Regions from separate parts of the Homo sapiens genome. Here region 2 is linked to region 1. The links are contacts of gene promoters, found by promoter capture Hi-C in blood cells and fetal thymus (Javierre and others, 2016). All regions are on one chromosome and are shown on one strand. Each heading gives the region's core, a stretch centred on a gene start or on the middle of the fragment in contact. The rest is flanking DNA. Distances are from core to core; before and after follow the strand shown.

Region 1 (4,741 bases), core at 1,616-4,115:
TGCAATATACTGATCAGAGCCTTGGCATCCTGTCTCTCACTCACCACAGAAATCAGACCCTCCTCTGGCCCACCCACCCCAGAAATGCAAAGCCAGAACCCCACCCCCAGCTCTCAGCCACCTCTTCAATGTGTGCCTTAAAAGAACCAGCCCTTGTGAGCGCAGCCAGTTCAGCCCACAGGGAGCTGGCTAGGTACAATTGGAAGGTCTTGCTCCAGCTCTCTGGGGAGCTGGCTTCTCCCTCCGTGTGCCTTGGTTTATTTCTCCGTACTCTTTCTGATGCCAAACAAGGGGGTGAGGGGTGAAATTCATTGCACAAAACTGGGAAATATGTACACTGTTATTAGAATCCCCCACTTCACCTGAGCTCCAGTCAAGCATTTCAACATCAGGACCTTAATCCAATCAGCTCTCAACAACGGCTGCAGGTAATGCTTTCTCCCTGTACCAGGAAAAGCTGGCAGCCCTTAGGCACTGATGCCAGGGAAAGCTTCCAGCCCCACCCCCTCTCACGCTGGAGAGGCGACGGAGAAGGGTGACAAAGCAAGGTGCAGCCAGTGCCCCCAGCAGCACATCCCCTTGCCAGGCACTGCCTGAGGCCCATTCAGAGTTTACTGCACAGGAGCTGAAGGAGTCCAGTCACTTGGATTCCTAAAGTGAAAGCCTTGCAGAGAAGGGACAGAGTCTGTCTGCAATTCGCTCTTAACGCCTCAATTTAAGCCTCTGGGTTTCGTCTAAGCCCCTAAGACAGGAATCGGGCTGCCATTCCCTGTTCCACAGTGGCAACCACAATTTCTGGGGCTAAGTGGGAGTGAGTCTCTTTCCTTACTGGCATAATTCTCTCTCTCTCTCTCTCTCTATACACACATCACACAACACACACACACATCACAACACACACACACATCACAACACACACACACATCACAACACACACAACACACCCCTTCAGTTGAATCCAAAGACAAGGGGAGAAATTACTCCCTCCGAAGTGCCAGCTCAGTCAAGACAAAAGGTGAAATGTATTAGCTGCGTAGCAGGCCCCCATCTCCTTCAATTCTTCCTGCAATGCAATTCCACCACATCCAATCATCCCCAAACCAGAAGGAGGATAGATCTCTGCCTGCCTTCCTCCACTGCCCCCACCTCACAGCTGGTATGGCCCCTATCCCCAGAGGCTTCCACTCTTCACACACATTTTCCCTGGGCTATTCTCCTATTGCTTTAAGTTCTGTGGGCTCTGAGGCTGGCTTTGGCTCCACACAAACAATTAAACTCCTGTCCAACCAGGTCTCAAAGCCCTGTGGCTTGCCCTTGCCTTGCTGGAGATTTGACTGAGGCCCAGCAGGGCCCAGCACATTTCCAAGGGTAGATGAGACGCACTAGGCCCTCATGCCAGGGACACAGGCAGGCAGAAAAGGGGTATTGTTGTCCTCTCCCCCACACTGAGGGATGAGGCATCTCTGCTCAACACACACACACACACACACACACACACACACACACACACCCCATGCCAAAATGCCAAGGAAGGAGTCAGGAGCAGAACCTGGCTCAGGACAGGATGGGGGCTGCCATGGGGACCAGATTCTAGGTGATTCAGCACTCTGCCCACTCTTGGCCCAGCCCATGGGCCACACTCATGACAGCTCCAGATGCCAAAGTGCTGACTTGGAGGCTGAAGCAGAATCTTTTCTAAAATCCAAAATTATCCAGCCCTCCAGCAGGGCTCCTCATCCAGGCCTTTACATCAGGGCTCAGGCCAAGCCCCAGGAGGAGTCTGCTCAGTCATTCCCCTGGACCCTGCCCCTTCCCCATCCTAGTTTCCCAATGCCTAGCACCCCCTCCCCCAATCCATCTAGGAAACAAACCTGAACAGCTAGAGGAGTAGAGTGGCTGCATGGCTGGAGAGGAACATAAGAGAGAGGCCTACTAACCCCCAGCATTCTTCCCCAAGCCACAAATAGGATCGAACATGCAGAAAGGGGTTATATTCCACAACCAAGATCCCCACCCAGGGAAGGGGGGTCCAGAGGCCACTGAGGGAGGGCTGGGTACAGGCTGTATGGCTCCACACAGCACCAGGAAGGGCAGCTAGGGAAGGTGACGGGTGTCAGGCCAGCTAACAGCCAAAGGGGGGAGAAGGCGGGGTTCTTGAGAGGGACTGTGATGCAGGAGGACACCAAGAGGCAGCTGGGAAGGGGCTGGGACAGGGCGTGCAAGGGGGAACCAGGGGAGGACAGAAACTGAGGGAGCAAATGGAGAGACAGGACACCAACTGGTAGGGGCATGAGATGGGGAAGAGAATAGGGGAGGCAAGAAGGGGCTGATGTGTGCGGTAGGAAATACAGGAGGCATGGGGTCATCCAAAGTGGGGTGTCGAGGTAAACAGAAGTACAAGGGCAGGCAGGGCTCACGGATGAGGCGGGGACAGAGAGGAAAGGGAAAGGGTTGAGGATGCGGGAAGGGGGAGGGGACGCGGCCAACGAGATAGAAAGGGTGTTGGGGTGGGCAGGGGGCTGGGAGCTGGACGGGGACGGGGTGGGCATACGAACAGAATCGGATGGATTCGGGGCAGGTGACAGTGTGGAGAGGGGAAGGGATGGGAATGTGGACGGAGGGGGAGGGGGCAGGTCAGGGGATGGAGACAGACGAGGGCGGGAACAAGGGGGTGTCGCTAGGTGGGTTTCCATGACTCTCTACCCCCATCTCTCCGGTGTTCGCGCTCGCCTACCTCCAAGGGCTCGGGCTCCGGCCCTGGGCGCTGTCCGAGCTGTCCGCTGCCGGCGCCGCCACTTCCCCCGCGTCCCCTGCAGCGCCTCTCGCCGCCAGCCGCCGCATTAGGGCAGAGACCAGCCCGTGCGCGTCCCCGGGCGGCCGGCGCGCCCCCGACACCCTGCGTGCGCGCCCCCGCGCCCCTCCCTTCGCGCTCCTAGCGGCCGCTGAGCGGGGACCAGGACAGAGGCGGAGGGAAGGATGCTCCGGACGCAGCCCCGCCTGGCGCGCTGGGGAGCGGTGCGCAGAGCCAGGGCCGGAAAAAAAAATCCTCCTTTCTCTTTTCACCTGAGGCCTCTTTGCGGGCTTGCCTGGAGAGTGATAACTAGTCTCCCCGTTTCCGTTCGCTGAGCACCTACTACGTGCAAAGCACACAGGAGGAAGTACCCTGAAGCCCCAACAGGATCGCTTGTTTGCACCTCCACCATAGACTGTGACTTTAGGGAGCAGGAAGTTGCCGGACAGCTTGTGTTCTCAGGGCCTAGCACAGAGACTTGTTTGTGGTAAACTCTCCAGCAACATTTGTTGATTGGCAAGTCGTTGGATCCTGATTCAGGGATGTGAGAGAGGTTGTGACTGCTATGAACAGTGCGGGGCTTTCTTTTAGAAATGGGAGATTTCCTCTGCCCTAGGGGGACTCAGGCCTCAGTCGTGGCTGGAGAACTATCTGACATGATAGCAAGACATTTATCTGTGGACATCAGTTTCCACAACTGAACCATGAAAAGTTGATTGGGTGGTCGCCCAAGGTCTCTTCTAGCTCTGACACGAAGACTGCATTAGGTTCTGTGCACAGGATCTGAGCTCAGAATTATCACCTGAAACAGTGGAAAGATCCCAGTTAGGGAATCATAGAATCTTTGTCTTGGAAGAGCACTTGGAAGCTTCTAGTTCAGCTCCTCATCCAAAACTACAGTCCCCTGCAGCATCCCTCTGTGGCCCCATTCAAGGGCTACTTTCTCTGTGCTCATAGCTCCTACCCTGGCACCACTGTCTTTTATTCTGGATGAGAACACCAAAGTTCAAGGAACCTGCCCAAGTAATAATTCAAAGCCCAGATGCATCTGACAGTGCCTAGTTAAAACTACTTTGCTATTTTAAGATGGGCCCTACAAGTTTTAGATTTCACCAATACTAGAATCTTCTAATATGGTCAAGTTGAAGGATCACAGGATTTGCCAAGAAAGTCCTGGCTTACCAGCAGGGTAAACTTGGGCAGTTCACTTAACCTCTCTAAGTCTTCTTTTTCCCATCTGTAAAATGGGCATAGAGTGAGCATCAATGAGATAAGGTACTGAACCAAACTGTTCTTTACAAATGTTAATTATTGTTCAGCCTTCCCTCCCCTTTCTTCATTACTTTTAAACAGCAAATACACGAAGGTCTAGAGAGATGGACCCCACACAGTGGTTTGGTGGTTGAAACTGAACTGGGACTCAAGTTTCATGGCCTTAGTATAAAGAAATTAAGTGTGGGCCTAAAGGGAGCATGGTGACCCCCAGAGGCCCTGAGGGTGAAGGTGTTTCCTTGGCCTCGGTGGTGTCCCAGAGCTGCAGGCAAGTCCTGATGGAGGGAGAGGCACCCCCTGCTGGTGATGGACTCTGGGGACTAAGAAGAGCCTACGCACCTTGCAGGCTGTTCTGCTGCTGTGTCAGGAACAGACTCACTCAGGACCGAGGGCAGAAAGTGGTTGCTCTTTTTCTTTCCTGACATTTATCTGGCCTTCCTGCTTCTTTTTCTTCCCTGGGTTTGCACCTCTAGTTCTGGCTGGAACCCTCAGCAAGCATGGACTTTCAACCCAGACCTGAAACCTCACTCACTGTGTCCTCTGTCATGGTGAATGGCAAGTCACAGGATTTTCACATTCCCTAGTGTTTCATTCCTCCCAATGAAATTCCATAAGCCCTGCCTCATCCTGGGCTCAGACCAAGAGAAAGCCCCAGGTATGAGTCTCGGGCACTTGAAG
Region 2 (4,741 bases), core at 734-3,233, 300 kb after region 1:
GGCTCATGCCTGTAATCCCAACACCTCGGGAGGCTGAAGTGGAAGAATCACTTGAGGCCAGGAGTTCAAGACCAACCTGAGCAACAAAGCAAGACCCCATTTCTACAAAAAAACAAAATTAGCCAGGTGCAGTGCAGTGCCATGCACCTATAGTCCTAGCTATTTGGGAGGCTGAGACAGGAAGATGAGTTAAGCCCAGGAGGTAAAGGCTGCAGTGAACTATGATTGCACCACTGCATTCCAGCCTGAGTGACAGAGCAAGACGCTCTACATTTAAAAAAAAAAAAAAAGAAAAAGAAAAGAAAGAAAGAAAAAGATAAAAAGGAATGGATTCTTCTCAACCTACTTATTTCAGTAAACTATCAAAAGACAGTGCAAAAGACAGTTCAGTAAACTATCAAAAGACAGTGGCAGTGGCCAAGTGCAGTGGTTCACACGCATAATCCCAGGACTCTGGGAGGCCAAAGTGGGTGGACTGCTTGAGTCCAGGAGCTCAAGATCAGCCTGAGCAACACAGCAAAACCCTGTCTCTACTAAAAATACAAAAAATTAGCCAGGCATGGTGGCATGTGCCTATAATCCCAGCTACTCGGGAGGCTGAGGTGGGAGAATCACCTGAGCCCGAGAGGTCCAGGCTGCAGTGAGCTGAGATAGTGCCACTGCACTCCAGCCTGGGCAACCTGAGAAGAAAAAAAGATGGTCAATCTAAAAAGATTACTAACTTGGGCTTTCTTCAAAGGGCAATGTTAATATGAAGCTCACAAAAGGGCTTTATGTAGTAGTGGAGAGGGAAAAAGTTTCATTATTTGGAAATGGCTATGTTCAGTCTGTCCAGTTTATTTACCTATCTCTTACAGACCACCATTTTGGAGACTCCAGACTCCAGTACAGCCAGTTTCCTATACATACCTAATAGTTAAAGAGCAGTATTTAGAAGGTCTAGAATCAAGCAAAGGGTTAGACAAATTGGCATTCAGATAAGAGATGGCTAAAGCCATTAGGTAAAAGGTTCTTGAGTGACCTGTGTAACAGATGGATCAGACTGATACCACCTGAGCCCACAGATTATTAACATGACTGACTAAAATAGACAGGCAGACCTTACATGACTCTGATGTGATTAAACAGAAGTACAAAGCATTACCTATAAAGCTTTCTTGGCAAAAAATTTAAACTTGAATTTATTCAAGCACTACCAGTTTACCAAAAATAGAGAGGGTAAAGAAACACATTAAACAAAATCACAAGGATACAATCTGCCAACTCTAGAGCGTGGGAAATTCTACAGAACAAATGACCCATTTCTTCAACACGTAAATGACATGAAAACAAAAGGAAAGTTAAGTTTTATAGATTAAAGACACTTATGAGACATATCAACCAAAGGCAATGTGTGGACTTTGGATCCTAATTCAAGTAAGACAAAAATACAAGGTATTTTTGAGATAACTGGGGGAAATGATACATAAACTGGCTATGAAATAGGATTATGGAATTACATGTTAAATTTGTTATGTGTAATAATGATATTGAATGTTTGGAGAAAAAAGTCCTTATCTGCTAGAGATTTTTAAAAGTGTGTCTAGATGAAGCAATATGACAAAACGTTAACAGTACGTCTAGAAAGTGGAAATCCTTCTACTCTATGTTTGATTTTTCAGTAAAAAGTTAATAACATAACATTCTGTGTGACAGGTAGTATGTATTTCTCCCAGTCATGCCAAAGATAGCATTCCATTTCCACCTTCATCTTCTTTGTTTTCCCATCATTTGCCCCCTTGAACTCAAAGCTGTGATACAGACTGAAGAAATATGATGTGACATACCTGTAGTAGCAGTGGCTAAAGTGACAAGATTCTTTCTTAGCATATCATAGAGAGGGCTGTTAAAGAGAGAAGATAAAAAATTAACAACCCCAAATGCCACTATGAAGATATCAGTGGTTTGCCGTTAAATATTAAATGTATTTCTGATGTTATCTCCCAAGTCTCTCTGTAAGGCATACAAAGGCAGAATCTTTTTCCCAGAACAGTTTTTAATTATTTAAATATTAAGATGTTAATGCCCAGGCCCCTGTGTTACTCTGCCCCCATTAAAAAACTGATTAATTTACATTTTATTTCATTAGCGAACAGTAATCCAAGTGGGGAAATCTCTTTTGGAAACTATTCCTTCCTTCCAGGACTGAAGTTTCACATTGTAATTGGAAAGTGGGGGTGGAGGGGAGTCTTTTTTTTTTGGAGACGGAGTTTTGCTATTATTGCCCAGGCTGGAGTGCCATGGCACAATCTCAGCTCACTGCAATCTCTGCCTCCCGGACTCAGGCAATTCTCCTGCCTCAGCCTCCCTACTAGCTAGGATTATAGGCGCCCGCCACCACGCCCAGCTAATTTTTTGTATTTTTAGTAGAGACGGCGTTTCACTTATGTTGGCCAGGCTGGTCTTGAACTCCTGAAGTCAGGTGATCCACCCACCTCAGCCTCCCAAAGTGCTGGAATTACAGGCTTGAGCCACCACACCCAGCTAAGGGAAGTCTTAGTGTAAGACAGAATGAGCTCAGAAGCAGCAGTCATCAAAGCTATAGAGAAAGAGAGCTTCTAAATTACTAATTAGCTTTTGACTATATAAGCTAATAACTTACACCCCATGCAGCTGGAGAAAAGTAACAGGTCAGGTTAGCCCTACTGTGATTCTTACCAGGCTCATCATCAACCTCTAACTGCCCAGCAATTCTACATTTCTCTCATCTGCTCACTCTTCCTCCCTCTCCAACAATTATTTCACAAAATTCTAACCTAGTCACATCAAGCTTCCTCCTACCCAGGCCTTTACACATGGTGTTCAATCAACCTCAAACTCTCTGATTGACTACTTAATTATCTATCTTTCAGCTTTTGGCTGAAATTTCACTTCCTCAAAAGAACATTTTCTTGACCTCTAACACTCTAAATCCCACCCACTCCCTGCTTCATGTATCTCTTTTCTGTAGCACTTGCCATAGTGTAGGTTTACCATGAATTAGTGTGATTATTTGACTAAGATGGGCAAGAGCATCTACTGACTCACTACTCTGTATACTCCATAAAATCAGACTGTGTGTCGCTCATTACCATATTCTCAGTGCCTCATAGGCTACCTAACATATGTAGGCTCTTACATATTTGTTGAGTGAAGTAATAAATATTAATAACCCATAGAAATTAAGTGGCTAGGTATAAGCACCCAAAAAGATACGCAAGCCCTCACTGTTTTTACCTTGGGTCTTTCACGGAGAAGCTCTGACGTCCCAGTAGTTCTCCCAAAAGATCTCCACCACAATATACCATATGCTGCTCCTGCTGATCATAAAGTTGCTTCACCATTATGTACTGACCTAAATAGTGCATGACCTGCATGGAATAAAATACCATGTTGTGATCTGTCCAGCTGCTACCAAAAACACAAATTCATTAGAGGAGGTAAGGTAAGTTAGTTTGCTAAAGAAAGAAATAACATATTTACAAGACTGTCAAAGTTTGTGTAAGGGGTCCTACAACAGGAAAGCCGCTCCCAACTACTAGGTCCATCTACTCATTGTCTTTCTGACAATTAACAGACCCAGACTTTTCAGCACAGAAATGAACTGATCTGACAATGAGAAAAAGCAGTGAATTTACCTAGTATCCTCTTAAAAATTTTCTCAGACGTCCAAATAAAGAAGTCTATTCTATTACTAGAAGTAATTTGCCTGGATTATAAAAATATTTTCCCAGTCCAGGGCACATAAACGACTTTAGGCTTTTGATATGTGTTCACATAATAATTCTTTTTGGCAAATGAAGTACAATGTTTAATAAGAGCCATCAGCATTGTAAGTGGACAAAACATAAAATCCAAGTGTTTATCAAATAAAAATTTAGTCGGCTGAAGTGGTTCACACCTGTAATCCCAGCACTTTGGGAGGCCAAGGCAGGCAAATTGCTTGAACCCAGGAGTTTGATACCAGCCTGGGCAACATGGCAAAACCTGTCTCTACATAACATACAAAACTTAGCCAGGTGTGGTGAGGCACGCTTGTAGTCCCAGCTACTAGGAAGGCTGAGGCGGGAGGATCACTTGAACCTGGGAAGCGGAGGTTGCAGTGAGCTGAGATACCACCACTGCATTCCAGCATGGGTGACAGAGTAAGACCCTGGCTCTAAATAAATAAATAATAAAAATCAGGAAATTCCCTTTATGCAATAGATAGAGTCAAGGTTCATAACAGAAAGCTCATCGTGTAAACTCAGGCAAACTCTGCCATGCTAAATGAAGGAGATGGCATAATTCATCATAACCACTATAATGATATAAAAATCCAGACTTTACCCCTTGCCTGTGTGTGACGTCAGAATTGCCACAGCCAGCTATCTGTATGGGCGGGGCTGCCCTGGAGATGCAGGGCAAGCGCCAGGAACCCCTCCGGGTAGCTACTACCTTGGACCCCCCCCAGTAGTGGAGGGCAGTATGGCAGCGTGCTACCCCCTGGTGGTGGCTATGGGGGTCCTGCCCCTGGAGGGCCTTATGGACCACCAGCTGGTAGAGGGCCCTATGGACACCTCAATCCTGGGATGTTCCCCTCTGGAACTCCAGGAGGACCAAATGATGGTACAGCTCCAGGGGGCCCCTATGGTCAGCCACCTCCAAATTCCTACGGTGCCCAGCAGCCCAGGCCTCATGGACAGGGTGGCTCCCCTCCCAATATGGATGAGGCCTACTCCTG

What was found. Contacts are between HindIII fragments. The CHiCAGO score rates a contact against its expected background, and 5 or more counts as called.
Region 2: a fragment that was not itself captured here is called in contact with the fragment with the promoter of NFASC in region 1 in 1 of 17 cell types (endothelial precursors); the score reaches 5.2 in endothelial precursors.

The regions. Positions count from the first base shown.
Region 1 is chr1:204,826,776-204,831,516 of GRCh38, reverse strand. It overlaps NFASC (neurofascin), which reads right to left and starts at 2,865. Exons shown (of 30, transcript NM_001005388.3): 1 at 2,735-2,865. The HindIII fragment of the contact is 3,169 bases long and covers 493-3,661 here.
Region 2 is chr1:204,529,332-204,534,072 of GRCh38, reverse strand. It overlaps MDM4 (MDM4 regulator of p53), which reads right to left. Exons shown (of 11, transcript NM_002393.5): 4 at 3,256-3,389; 5 at 1,827-1,882. It also overlaps the pseudogene LOC100291628. Among named protein-coding and RNA genes, the nearest start is that of MDM4, 15 kb to the right of the region's middle. The HindIII fragment of the contact is 1,657 bases long and covers 1,155-2,811 here.